Linked DNA regions of Homo sapiens: all the other regions are linked to region 1. The links are contacts of gene promoters, found by promoter capture Hi-C in human tissues and cell types (Jung and others, 2019). All regions are on one chromosome and are shown on one strand. Each heading gives the region's core, a stretch centred on a gene start or on the middle of the fragment in contact. The rest is flanking DNA. Distances are from core to core; before and after follow the strand shown. Region 1 holds the start of PAK4 (p21 (RAC1) activated kinase 4). Region 2 has its middle 15 kb from the start of FBXO17. Region 3 has its middle 8.9 kb from the start of IFNL3. Region 4 overlaps LOC124904713 (a long non-coding RNA gene).

The links. Contacts are between HindIII fragments. The study calls those that stand out against the background at their distance.
Region 2: a fragment that was not itself captured here is called in contact with the fragment with the promoter of PAK4 in region 1 in 1 of the 25 tissues and cell types used here (IMR-90 fibroblasts).
Region 3: a contact is called between a fragment that was not itself captured here and the fragment with the promoter of PAK4 in region 1, in 7 of the 25 tissues and cell types used here (H1 embryonic stem cells, IMR-90 fibroblasts, bladder and 4 more).
Region 4: a fragment that was not itself captured here is called in contact with the fragment with the promoter of PAK4 in region 1 in 1 of the 25 tissues and cell types used here (dorsolateral prefrontal cortex).

Annotation. Positions count from the first base shown.
Region 1 is chr19:39,124,346-39,127,045 of GRCh38, forward strand. PAK4 (p21 (RAC1) activated kinase 4) reads left to right here and starts at 1,441. Exons shown (of 10, transcript NM_005884.5): 1 at 1,441-1,574. The HindIII fragment of the contact is 13,366 bases long and covers 1-2,700 here.
Region 2 is chr19:38,989,562-38,992,261 of GRCh38, forward strand. No RefSeq gene overlaps it. Among named protein-coding and RNA genes, the nearest start is that of FBXO17, 15 kb to the left of the region's middle. The HindIII fragment of the contact is 7,056 bases long and covers 1-2,700 here.
Region 3 is chr19:39,252,519-39,255,218 of GRCh38, forward strand. It overlaps the pseudogene MSRB1P1. Among named protein-coding and RNA genes, the nearest start is that of IFNL3, 8.9 kb to the left of the region's middle. The HindIII fragment of the contact is 6,715 bases long and covers 1-2,700 here.
Region 4 is chr19:38,935,840-38,938,539 of GRCh38, forward strand. LOC124904713 (a long non-coding RNA gene) reads right to left here. Exons shown (of 2, transcript XR_007067253.1): 2 at 1-1,013. Among named protein-coding and RNA genes, the nearest start is that of MRPS12, 6.2 kb to the left of the region's middle. The HindIII fragment of the contact is 4,061 bases long and covers 1-2,700 here.

The DNA of each region.
Region 1 (2,700 bases), core at 191-2,690:
ATGCAGCAGTGAACAAAGACAGAAATCCATGTTGTCATGGGGCTGACATTCCAGCAGAGGAGACAACCAACAAGCAATAACTACAATTAGGAGTGAGAAATAAGAACAAAGCAGACAGAGTTTGGTAGTATGTGAGAGGGATGTTTGCTGCTTTCCTTAGGGTGAGCGAGGGAATTAGTTCACAGAGAAAGTGACATCTGTGTAAAGCCCTGAAAAAAGGGAGGGAGAGATAAGGATACCTGGGGGAAGAGTATGTTCCAGGCAGAGGAACAACCAGTGCAAAGACTGTGAGGTGAGAGCGCACCTGACAAGAGTTCAGGAACAGCATGAAGGCTGGAGTCCAGTGAATAAGATCCAGGAGGAGAGATGTCTGGCCGGGCGCAGTGGCTCACGCCTGCAATCCCAGCACTTTGGGAGGCCGAGGCAGGAGTATAGTTTGAGCCCAGGAGTTCGAGACCAGCCTGGCCAACACAACAAAACTCTCTCTTTAAAAATAAAAGAAAAAGGCCAGCTTGGTGGCTCACACGTGTAATCCCAGCACTCTGGGAGGCCGAGGCGGATAGATCACCTGAGGTCAGGAGTTCGACCTGGCCAACATGGTGAAACGCTGTCTCTACTAAAAATACAAAAAATTAGCTGGGTGTGGTGGTGGACGCCTGTAATTCCAGCTACTCAGGAGGCTGAGGCAGGAGAATCTCTTGAACCCGGGAGGCGGAGGTTGCAGTGAGCTGAGATCGCGCCATTGCACTCCAGCCTGGGCAACAAGAGCGAAACTCTATCTCAAGACAAATAAATAAGTAAAAATAAAATTTAAAAAAATTTTTAAAGAAGATGTCTGCTGTTTGTTTTCAATATTTTGACCAATTACTTCGTAAAAACTTATTTAAAAATTGAAGAGCAAACAGTCTCAGGTTCCCGGGCTCAGACAGACCAGCGTTCAAAACTCATTACCTTCTTTCTATGATGCTAAGCCAGCTATTTCACCCTCTGAACCTCTGTTTCTTTATCTGTAAAATGGGTATTAATGATATTATACCACAGGGTTGTATATGCAGCGAGAAAATGCAAGTAAAACACTTATCCCGGTGCCTGCCTCCTAGTAAGTGCTTAAGAACTGTTTCTGCCCATTAACTCATTACTTTCTCCCAGCCCCTAACTCCTTCTGGGGGGGAAGTTAGAAAATCGGTATCACACGAAAACAGTCATTTCCCCTTTAAGGACCTCAGTGGGCCGGGAGCCAGCCTTCCCGCACCTTTTCCAAAATTTCCAATCCCCGCTTGGCATTTTCTGCCCGAAGGTCTCCGATTGGACGCTCTGTACCAATCGGAGGCTGGAGCGGGCCCTGAGAGGCGCCCGACTCCGCCCCCGCACTGGCCCTGCCCACTGCCCGGTCAGCCTCGTTGCTATGGGGACTGGTGGGCGGTGAGGGGGGAAAGCCCCGGATGTTCGTTGGGGATTCAACATGGCGGCGGGAGTGTCCGCGGTGGTGGCGGTGCAAGAGAGCTGAGGGAGGCGCGAGGGCGCGGAGTTCCAGGTCGAGCAGTTAGGCCGCGAGCGACTGCGGCGCCGAGCCGGTAGGATAAGGGGTCCGGCCAGGGGCTTGCGGTGGGCCGGGCGCTGGCGGCGGGACGGCGTTTCCGCGAGGAGGGGGGCGGGGCCGCCGGGGTCAAAGGTCACTGGTGGAGGGAAGGGTCGCGTCCGAGGGGTCGGGGGTTAACGCAGACTGGAGGGAGTTGTAGTGGAGGTCGGAGATCAAACCAGCGAAGGGGGCGTGGCGAAGGGGAGTGCAAAGTTTGAAATTCGAAGTGGGGGCGCGTTCGAGGGGTTCTGGGCGAGTCTCAAAAAAGGCAGGGTCAAAGTTAATAATTTGAGGGAAGGCTGCCCCCACGAGGGTCAGAGGTCACAGCCCCAGGGGCGCCAGGTTGGAGGTTTAAAGCTGCCCCTAGCGGAGCAGATGAATGAGTTTTAGGTTCGGGGGCGTCTTTTAGGGGTTCAAAGCTGGGGCGTGCCTAGAAGGTACAAAGGTGAGAATCTGACAGCGGGGCAGCTGTTTCCCAGAGTCAAAAATTAAAACCCAAGGAGGGCGTATTGCGGGGGACGGGGGGGGGGGGGGGGGCCGGGTCAGAGATGCTTCCTGGTGACAGGAGAAGGGGGAACCCTCCCACAAATAATAATGGCAAACACTCATGAAACACTATGGGCTAGACCCTCTTTTTAACGCTTTACTTGTATGAGCTTATTCAGTCCTCACTATAGTCTTAGGGGGTCTTAACCTGGTATTAAGAGGTTAAGTGATTTGCACAAGGTCACCCGATGCATAAGTTGTGCGCTGGGATTCTAACTCCGGAGTTCTGGCCCAGAGCCCTGCTCTGGCCGACCGCCTCTCAAATCATCATAATGTCGGTTAATGTTTAATGAGGGCTCACACTGTGCTCCACGCCCTGTGTGCCCGGTCGTATTTCACTCCTGCTGCAATCTTGTGAAGTGAGTGCTCAAGATGAACCTACTTTACAGACGGGAAAAATGAGGCTCAGAAGCTTCTGCTGAAGGCAGAGTTAGAATCGAAGCTGGGCCTGGGTGATTCCAGGGCTCCTGCCCCTGGTCGCCACATTGTCCGCTGCCAGCCATTAGGTCTCTCCTGGAAGCAGGGGGCTGGGCAGGGCTGGGCCACTCCCTGGGCGGATCGGATTGTCTGCTTGG
Region 2 (2,700 bases), core at 49-2,548, 130 kb before region 1:
CCCAGCCCTGCCACCAGTCAATCCACAGATGAGCGCCTACTGCATGCAGCCCTCCCTCCCTCCCTCTCTCCCTCCCTCCCTCTCTCCCTCCCTCTCTCTCTTTCTCCTTCTTTCTTTCCTTCTTTCTTGCTTTCTTTCTTTCTTTCTTTCTTTCTTTCCTTTCTTTTTTCTCTCTCTCTTTCTCTCTCTTTCTTTCTTTCTCTCTCTGTCTCTCTCTCTCTTTCTTTCTTTCTTTCTTTCTTCCTTTCTTTCAGACAGGGTCTCACTCTGTTGCCCAGGCTGGAGTGCAGTGGTGCCATCATAGCTCACTGCAGCCTCCAACGCCTACACTCAAGCATTCCTACTGCCTCAGCCTCCTAAGTAACTGGGATTACAGGTGCACACCACCACACTCAGCTAATTTTTTTATTTTTATTTTTTTAATAGAGACAGAGTTTCACTATGTTGCCCAGGCTGGTCTTGAACTCCCGGGCTCAAGTGATCCTCCTGCCTCAGCCTCCCAGAGTGCTGGGATTACAGGTGTTTGCCACCACGCCCAGCCTAACACCTGTTATGTGCAGTGCGCTCTCTTAGGGTTCTGCTGTCTCGAAGGTGGAGGAGTGATAACCCAGCTGCGGGATGATCCTGTCTGAGGGATGATGGCAGAAGTCAGGCGTGTTCTGAATGTCCTTTGAAGGAAAGATAAAAGGATTTGCTGCTGGACTGGATTTGGTGTGAGAAATGGGGAGAGACAGGAGTCCAGGACAAGGCCAGGCTCTTGGGTCTGGCAGCTGGTGAAATAAGAGTGCCGCTCCCTGAAGATGGCGTGCGGAATCTGAATAGGTTCAGAAGGTTGCAAAATCTTTCTGGGTATGTGCTATGAACTTCAAGGCCAATGTTTCTCTACATTTTGTAACCATAGTCTGAGTAAGAAATGCATTCTGGCCGGGTGCGGTGGCTCACACCTGTACTCCCAGCACTTTGGGAGGCCGAGGTGGGTGGATCACCTGAGGTTAGGAGTTCAAGACCAGCCTGGCCAACATGGTGAGACCCTGTCTCTACAAAAATACAAAAATTAGACAGGTGTGGTGGCGGGCGACTGTAATCCTAGCTACTCGGGAGGGTGAGGCAGGACAATTGTTTGAACCTGGGAGGCAGAGATTGCAGTGAGCTGAGATTGTGCCATTGCACTCCAGCCTGGGTGAGAGAGTAAGATTCCATCTAAAAAAAAAAAAAAAAGAAATGTATTTTACACAACAATCAATACACCTGAAAGTAGAATTTCTGCAGCAATGTTTACCCGTTGCTGTGTGCAGTGCACTCTGATGTTTTCTATTGAATTTCATTTTTTAAAAATTGTGCTGGTTGTGACTTTTATCCGTTGGTCATGATCTAAAAATTGAAAATTATCATTCTAGGTTCTACCTCTTCAAGACTTAGCTTGAGTTCTTTACTGCCCTGGAGAAGTCTGGGAGTGTGGCCGGGTGACCACGGGGCAGCCAGAGCCTGGCAGGGATGACTGGAAGGAGGGGAGCTAAGACTTTGCAGTGTTCCTCCAGGGATGATGATGTAATCATGGAAGGGCTCAAAGCCTTTCCCAAGGACAGGGTCAAGGCTACTAAGTCCAAGTAGCAGGGACAGGCACAGCCCGGCCAGTAAGGGTGTGTGGCCCGGGGCTGGTGCCTCCCTTACTCCCTGGTCCTGCAGAGGACGCCTGGGATCTGCAGCACTGTGGCAATGACATGTTGGGGAGAAGGGACCCTCGCAGGCTCCCAGACCTGCTTTGTGACTTACTGAGTGAGTGCCCGACCCCTGCCTCACCAGCCCTGGGCTTCAGAGCCTGAGAATGAAACCCGCCCTTCTTCCACCTCCTCTCCTGCCCATCTCCTTCCCTCCTTCCTCTTCCCAGCTGGTGCCACGAGGAGCTGGCGGACCTCCAAGAGAATTGGCCAAGAATGCAGCCTCTGGACAGTGACCTGGGTGAGAATCATCACAGTGGCTCACCCCGGACCCAGGAATTTCACTTAGTCCTTGTCATCATCCACCAATGCGGGACAGCTCGGCCCAGATTGTTCATGGCTCAAGACCCCCACCCCACCCCATTCTGCTTGGTTGGGCTGTGTTGTTTATTTTATTTAATGAATTAATTTATTTATTTGAAACAGAATCTTGCTCTGTTGCCCAGGCTGGAGTGCAATGGCACGATCTCAGTTCACTGCAACCTCTGTCTCCCGGGTTCAACTGATTCTCCTTGCCATGGTCCCCTAAGTAGCTAGGATTACAGGTGCCTGCCACCACACCCGGCTACTTTTCATGTTTTTAGTAGAGACAGGGTTTCATTGTGTTGGCTGGGCAGGTCTTGAACTCCTGACCTCAGCTGATCTGCCTGTCTCAGCCTCCCAAAGTGCTGGGATTACAGGCATGAGCCACCATGCCCGGCCGCACTGTGCTGTTTTTAAGCCTCTTGAATATCATCACCTCTCTTTGTTTACAGATGGGGAAACAGTTTACAGACGGGGAAACAGGCTCAGAGGGAAAAAATACCTTTTCAGGGTTTTCCAGGCAAAGAGTGGCAGAGCAGAGACCAACCTCCGCCTGGCCAAAGCCCTTCTCTGCTTCCTGTCCATTTGTGGGTGATCTGGTGGTTTCTCCTTTTCTTTCTTTCTCTCTCTCTCTCTTTCCTTTCTGACAGAGTCTTGCTTTGTCGCCCAGGCTGGAGTG
Region 3 (2,700 bases), core at 47-2,546, 130 kb after region 1:
AGCAATTTCACCCAAATTGGAACCATGCTGTATACAGTTTGGTAGCTGGCTTTTTATGTCTTACCATTATCTCTCATTTGCATTCTCCCACATCTTTAATTATAGCGTATCAGTTAGGGCCCAGCAGGAAACAGATGGCCCGTCAATTTAGGATAATTTGAGGTGGGGTTGATACCAGAAGCCTTTATAAAGCGATTGGATAGTAAAGGCAAATGACAAGAGCTAGTGCAAGCTCCTGGGGCCAGCATGGGTGAGGGGCCTCATCCACAGGCCTAAAGGAAGGGGAGAGGGTTGAGGGTGTGCATGTGGTTGCCTGACTTGGGGAGGAGAGAGTCACTTAGATTTGTGGAGGAAACAGATGAATTGTGGTGGCCCAGCACAGGGAGGAGCCCTGGGGAAAAAACACCTGACCTCCTCTCCCCTCTACCTGGGGCCCAGAGTAGGTTGGAGAAGCAGGGACAGTAGATAAGGAGGGGCAAACGGAAGACATCCCCCACCCCCACACCACTATTAGAGCTTCCATTCCAGCAGGATCATTTAATAACCAACCCCTGATTGGTAGGGTGGCAGGTTTTTCATTTCCTCAACAGTGTCTTTTGCAGAGCAGAGGTTGCTTTTTGTTTTTGTTTTTTTGGACATGGTCTCAGTCTGTAGCCCAAGCTGGAGCATAGTAGTGGCACAATCGCCACTCACTGCAGCCTCCATCACCCAGGCTCAAGCCATCCTCCCACCCCAGCCTCACAAGTAGCTGGGGCGCCAGCTACCTGTAGTAGGCACGTGCCACCAGGCCCAGCTAACTTTTCTTTTTTTCCCCAGAGATGCAGTCTCACTTTGTTGGCCAGGCTGGTATGTTTCCATTCCAACATTCTTGAGATGACAAAATTATAGAAATGGAGAGCAGATTAGTGGTTGACAGAGGTTAAGGAAGGGGTCGGATGGGAGAGGAGTGGACGTGGCTACTGAAAGGGCAACACAAGGGATCTTGTGGTATGGAGTGTTTTGTATCTTGTCTGTATCAATGTGATATGGTTAGGCTTTGGGTGCCCACCTAAATCTCATCTTGAATTGTAATCCCCAGGTGTTGAGGGACAGACCTGGTGGGAAGTGATTGGATCTGATCATGGGGGTGGTTCCCCCATGCTGTCCTTGTGATAGTGAGTGAGTTCTCACGAGATCTGATGGTGTTTTAAGTATTTGGAAGTTCCTCCTTCTTTCACTGTCTCTCTCTCCTGCCACCATGTAAGAGGTGCCTGCTTTCCCTTCCATCATAATTGTAAATTTCCTGAGGCCTCCCCAACCATGCAGAACTGCGAGTCAATTAAACCTCTTTCCTTTATAAATTACCCAGTCTCAGGTAGCATCTTCATAGCAGTATAAGAATGGACTAATACACAATGTCAATATTCTCTATGTGATATAATACCATGGTTTTCGCAAGATGTTACCATTGGGGGAAACTGGGTAAAGGGTACACAGTAACTCTTTGCATTCTTTTTTTTTTTTTTTTTTTTGCACGTTTCATTTGTTTATTGATTTCCGCCTGATTACTCCAGAAGGTAATTACTTAAGATGCTTAAGATGGGTGGGGGGGTGATTTCAGCATCGCCCACCTTCACCTGTGGGAAGACCTCCGAGCATGTACAGTAAGACACACAGTCATATCTTGGGGAGCTCTCTGCAGGTGAACTGCAGGCCCCCAGCCCCATGCTGGGTAAAGTAATGAAGCAACAGCCGCTTTCCTAAGCCCGAGTGACCCAAGCTACTTCTGCGCAGGTTGTGAAACAGGGTTTAGGTTTCTCCCCTCTTGGACAAGAGGCCAGGGGTCTGCCCCATCAGCCTGCTTTCCTGGTGGGTCACGGACCATCATCACCTGGCTGGTCTGGAAGGGTTTAACCACAGCGGATCATGTGGCGACCAGAGCCGGGGCAGCTGTCAAGGGCAGCCTCCATTTCCATTCTGTCTCGTAAGCAGCCTGGGAGATGTGGGCCTAAGCTTTGGTGAGGATGAGAGTCTGTCTTGAAATTGGGCCCCACAGGGGTGAGTCCAGAGGCAGGACCGGGAAGGAAAGGTCGAAGGTCGGGCGTAACATCATTCAAAGACCAGCCACGCCCAGACCACACCCCTGAGATGCCTTATCAGGTGAGCAGGAGGCTAAGTCAGCCGACAGTGTGGCCACACAGCCCAAGCCTGTCCTAGCAGAAGGCAGGAACCATCAGCAAATAAGTGACTTTTCCAAGAAACAAGATCTTGTTCAGAGCTGCGGCCTTGGGAGCCTTGATGTTTCAGCCATTGTGCCCTGCCTTCCTGTCTCAATGTCCAGGTCTCGAATTCCATGGTAGAATGGCCAGTGTGTGGCCTTAGTGCCGTGGCCATCTGGGGTCGGTGTGGGCTGCCCGCCTAGTGCGCCTGGGAAGCAGAAGTTTCTTTGCCTTTAGGGACAAACTTCAGCGAGCTGCTGAATATTCATTCAGAATCGGGACTGCCGCAGCTTGGGGCCATCGTTCAGGAACTTGTGGCTCAACGTGTTGCCACACTTGCACGAGACACCTTCAAGACTTCAGGATGATTGTGCTCTGGGCGCTTGGCCACGCTGTCAGAACGGATGGTCTTGGTGAACACCGGCCAGGGGAATGAGTATGTGTACTTTGAGCGGCTGGGAAACAGCTCATAGCCACACTTGGCACACATATAGACGCCTGG
Region 4 (2,700 bases), core at 56-2,555, 190 kb before region 1:
CCATTTGAATGGGTTACTAGCTGCTAATCTGTCTGCAGCTCCTTCAAGCACTCCAGTTCCTGGCATTAAGTTCACGTGTGCCTGGGATACTTTAAATATTTGTTCTTTCAATTTTGCAATATCCAAATACAAGTTTGTAGAGTGGCCTTCTAGATGCTTTTTTATTCTTTCCCAAATTTTGATTTTATTAAGAGCTATTAACAGTTTCCACAAATGCTTATGTTTAGCTCCTAGAGCAGGCCATATCATTTGAGGCTGAGGTGCCACTATACTGCCATGGTTCCAGATAATAGGAACTCTTGCTGTATTTCTTACCATTTCTATCATCTGACCATTTTGTTCAGATGAGCTGATCACAGTGTGGCCATGGCATGCAGACTGAGAGGTGCAGTTCAAGCTAAACATCCCCATAGGTGACCAATTAATAATGATTCCATAGGAATTGTTGTGCAGCACCTCTGCCTGTTCTGCAAAGCAATCTTCCTAAACAAGTACGTTCATTTTTGCTAACTGGGTCCAATCCTGTTTACAAATATGTTTTTGAGGGCAGTATGCCTCAATTATAGGAGCAGATTTATTATGAGATCAGAAAGCTTGTATAACTGTGTCATAGAGTGATTACATCCAGGCATTATTGCCAGCCAAGATTGATAAATATGCCCAATAAGTATAATTGTCCTCTGTGTCAGCCCTTATTGAAGGAATACTCATGGCAGTGGTGATCATCGCTATCATAGCTACCATTAAATTACTCATTGCGACTGGTTGTCCCACTTTCCTCAGGTTTTCTTCCACCATCTGTGACAGCTTCTTGATCTGTCTCCAGGTGGGTGGCTGTGTTTGACAGGTGTTGCTCGTGACAGTTGGGGTCTTCCTCAGCGTCAGTCTCGACATGGCTGCAACCGGGGGTGGGGGGGGTCCTCAGTTTCCTCCCGGAATCTCTTCCTCAGCATCTGGCTCATGATAAGGTTTCAGGTGTCTTGATGGTATCCAAATCGGCTGTTGAGTCAGTCCTGGAGAAACACAAGCATAACCTCTACCCCAAGTTATTATTTTACCTATTTCCTAACTTTTTGTTATTGGATCTCTCCACCAAACTAGTTGTTCTGCTTCTGTCTTTGCAGCTGGTTTCTGTAGATGCTGTTCAGCTACTGATAGGATCTGGCCTTTAGGCAGGCTCAAAAAATTTAAAGTTAACAATGCTAGATTCAGTTGCATATGGGGTGTCCCGTAGTCCTTGTTTTCCCCCCTTTTTTTTGCTTTTGCAACTGCTGTTTCAGGGAGAGATTCATTCTTTCCACTATGGCTTGTCCTTGAGAATTATATGGGATACCAGTAATGTGTTTAATATTCCGTATAGAGAAAAATGTAGCTAGAGCTCGGCTAGTGTAGCCTGGGGCTTTATCTGTTTTAATAGAAGCTGGAATGCCCATCACTGCAAAACACTGCAAAAGGTGACGCCTGGAAGAGGTGTATGAGCCCTAATGTGAGTGATGTAAAAAGGGTGCATTCTACTCCTAACTGCTGTTTGCAGTTGGGTAAATAAAATCATCAGTTGTTCATCTGCAGGAAATTGTAACTGAGCATTTTCAGTTAATTGTGTGGAATGAATCACGTATGAAGAGTCAGAAATCACATTAATAGGCATATGAAAAGCAGTCACTACCTCAATTACAGCTACAGGCTCCACTTTTTGAGCTGAAGTATAGGGCATCTGAAAAACTTTACTTTTTGAGCCAGAATAAGAAGCTTTACCATTACTAGACCCATCTGTAAAAACATTTTCAGCACCTTCAATTGGTTTAAATTTAGTTATTTTAGGGAGAATCCAATTAGTTAATTTCAAAAATTAAAACAGTTTTGTTTAGGAAAATGGTTATCGAGAATACCCACAAAGTCAGCTTAATTGGTTTGCCAAGTAAGACTATTTATAAAAGCTTGCTGTATTTGTGCCTTTGTGAGAGGGATAATAATTTTTCCAGGATCATATCCATGTAATTTAACAATCCGAGTTCTCCCATTTCCTATCATAGTAGCAATTTGATCCAAATAAGGAGTTAGAGTCCGTGAATTAGTATGTGGAAGAAAAAGCCACTCTACAAGATCTCACTCTTGAACAATAACACCAGTAGGTGAATGCTGAGTTGGAAAAATTAGCAAATCTAGAGTCTTCTCTGGATCTAATCTATTTATTTGAGCTTTATGGACTTGCTTTTCGATTAGCCGCAGCTCTGCCTCAGCTTCTCTTGTTAATTACCGAGGGCTTGTGAGACCAGGATCTCCTCTAAGGATAGAAAATAGATTACTCATGGCATAGGTAGGAATGCCTAGAGCAGGTCGTATCCAATTAATGTCCCCTAGTAATTTTTGAAAGTCCTTTAATGTTTTCAATTGATTCCTATGTATGGTTGCTTTCTGTGGCACAATGGTAGTGTCATTTACTAAGGTCCCCAAGTAGGAGTAAGGAGTAGTAGTCTGAATTTTGTCAGGAGCTATAATTAAACCAGCGCAAGAAATCGAATTTTGTAAGTGATCATAACATTGGAGTAATACTTCTCGAGTGGGGGCAGCACAAAGTATATCATCCATATAATGAATAATGTAACACTGTGAAAACTTTTAACGAGTAGGTTCAATTGCTTGCCCTACATAAGTCTGGCAAATTGTTGGGCTGTTTAACATGCCTTGTGGCAATACTTT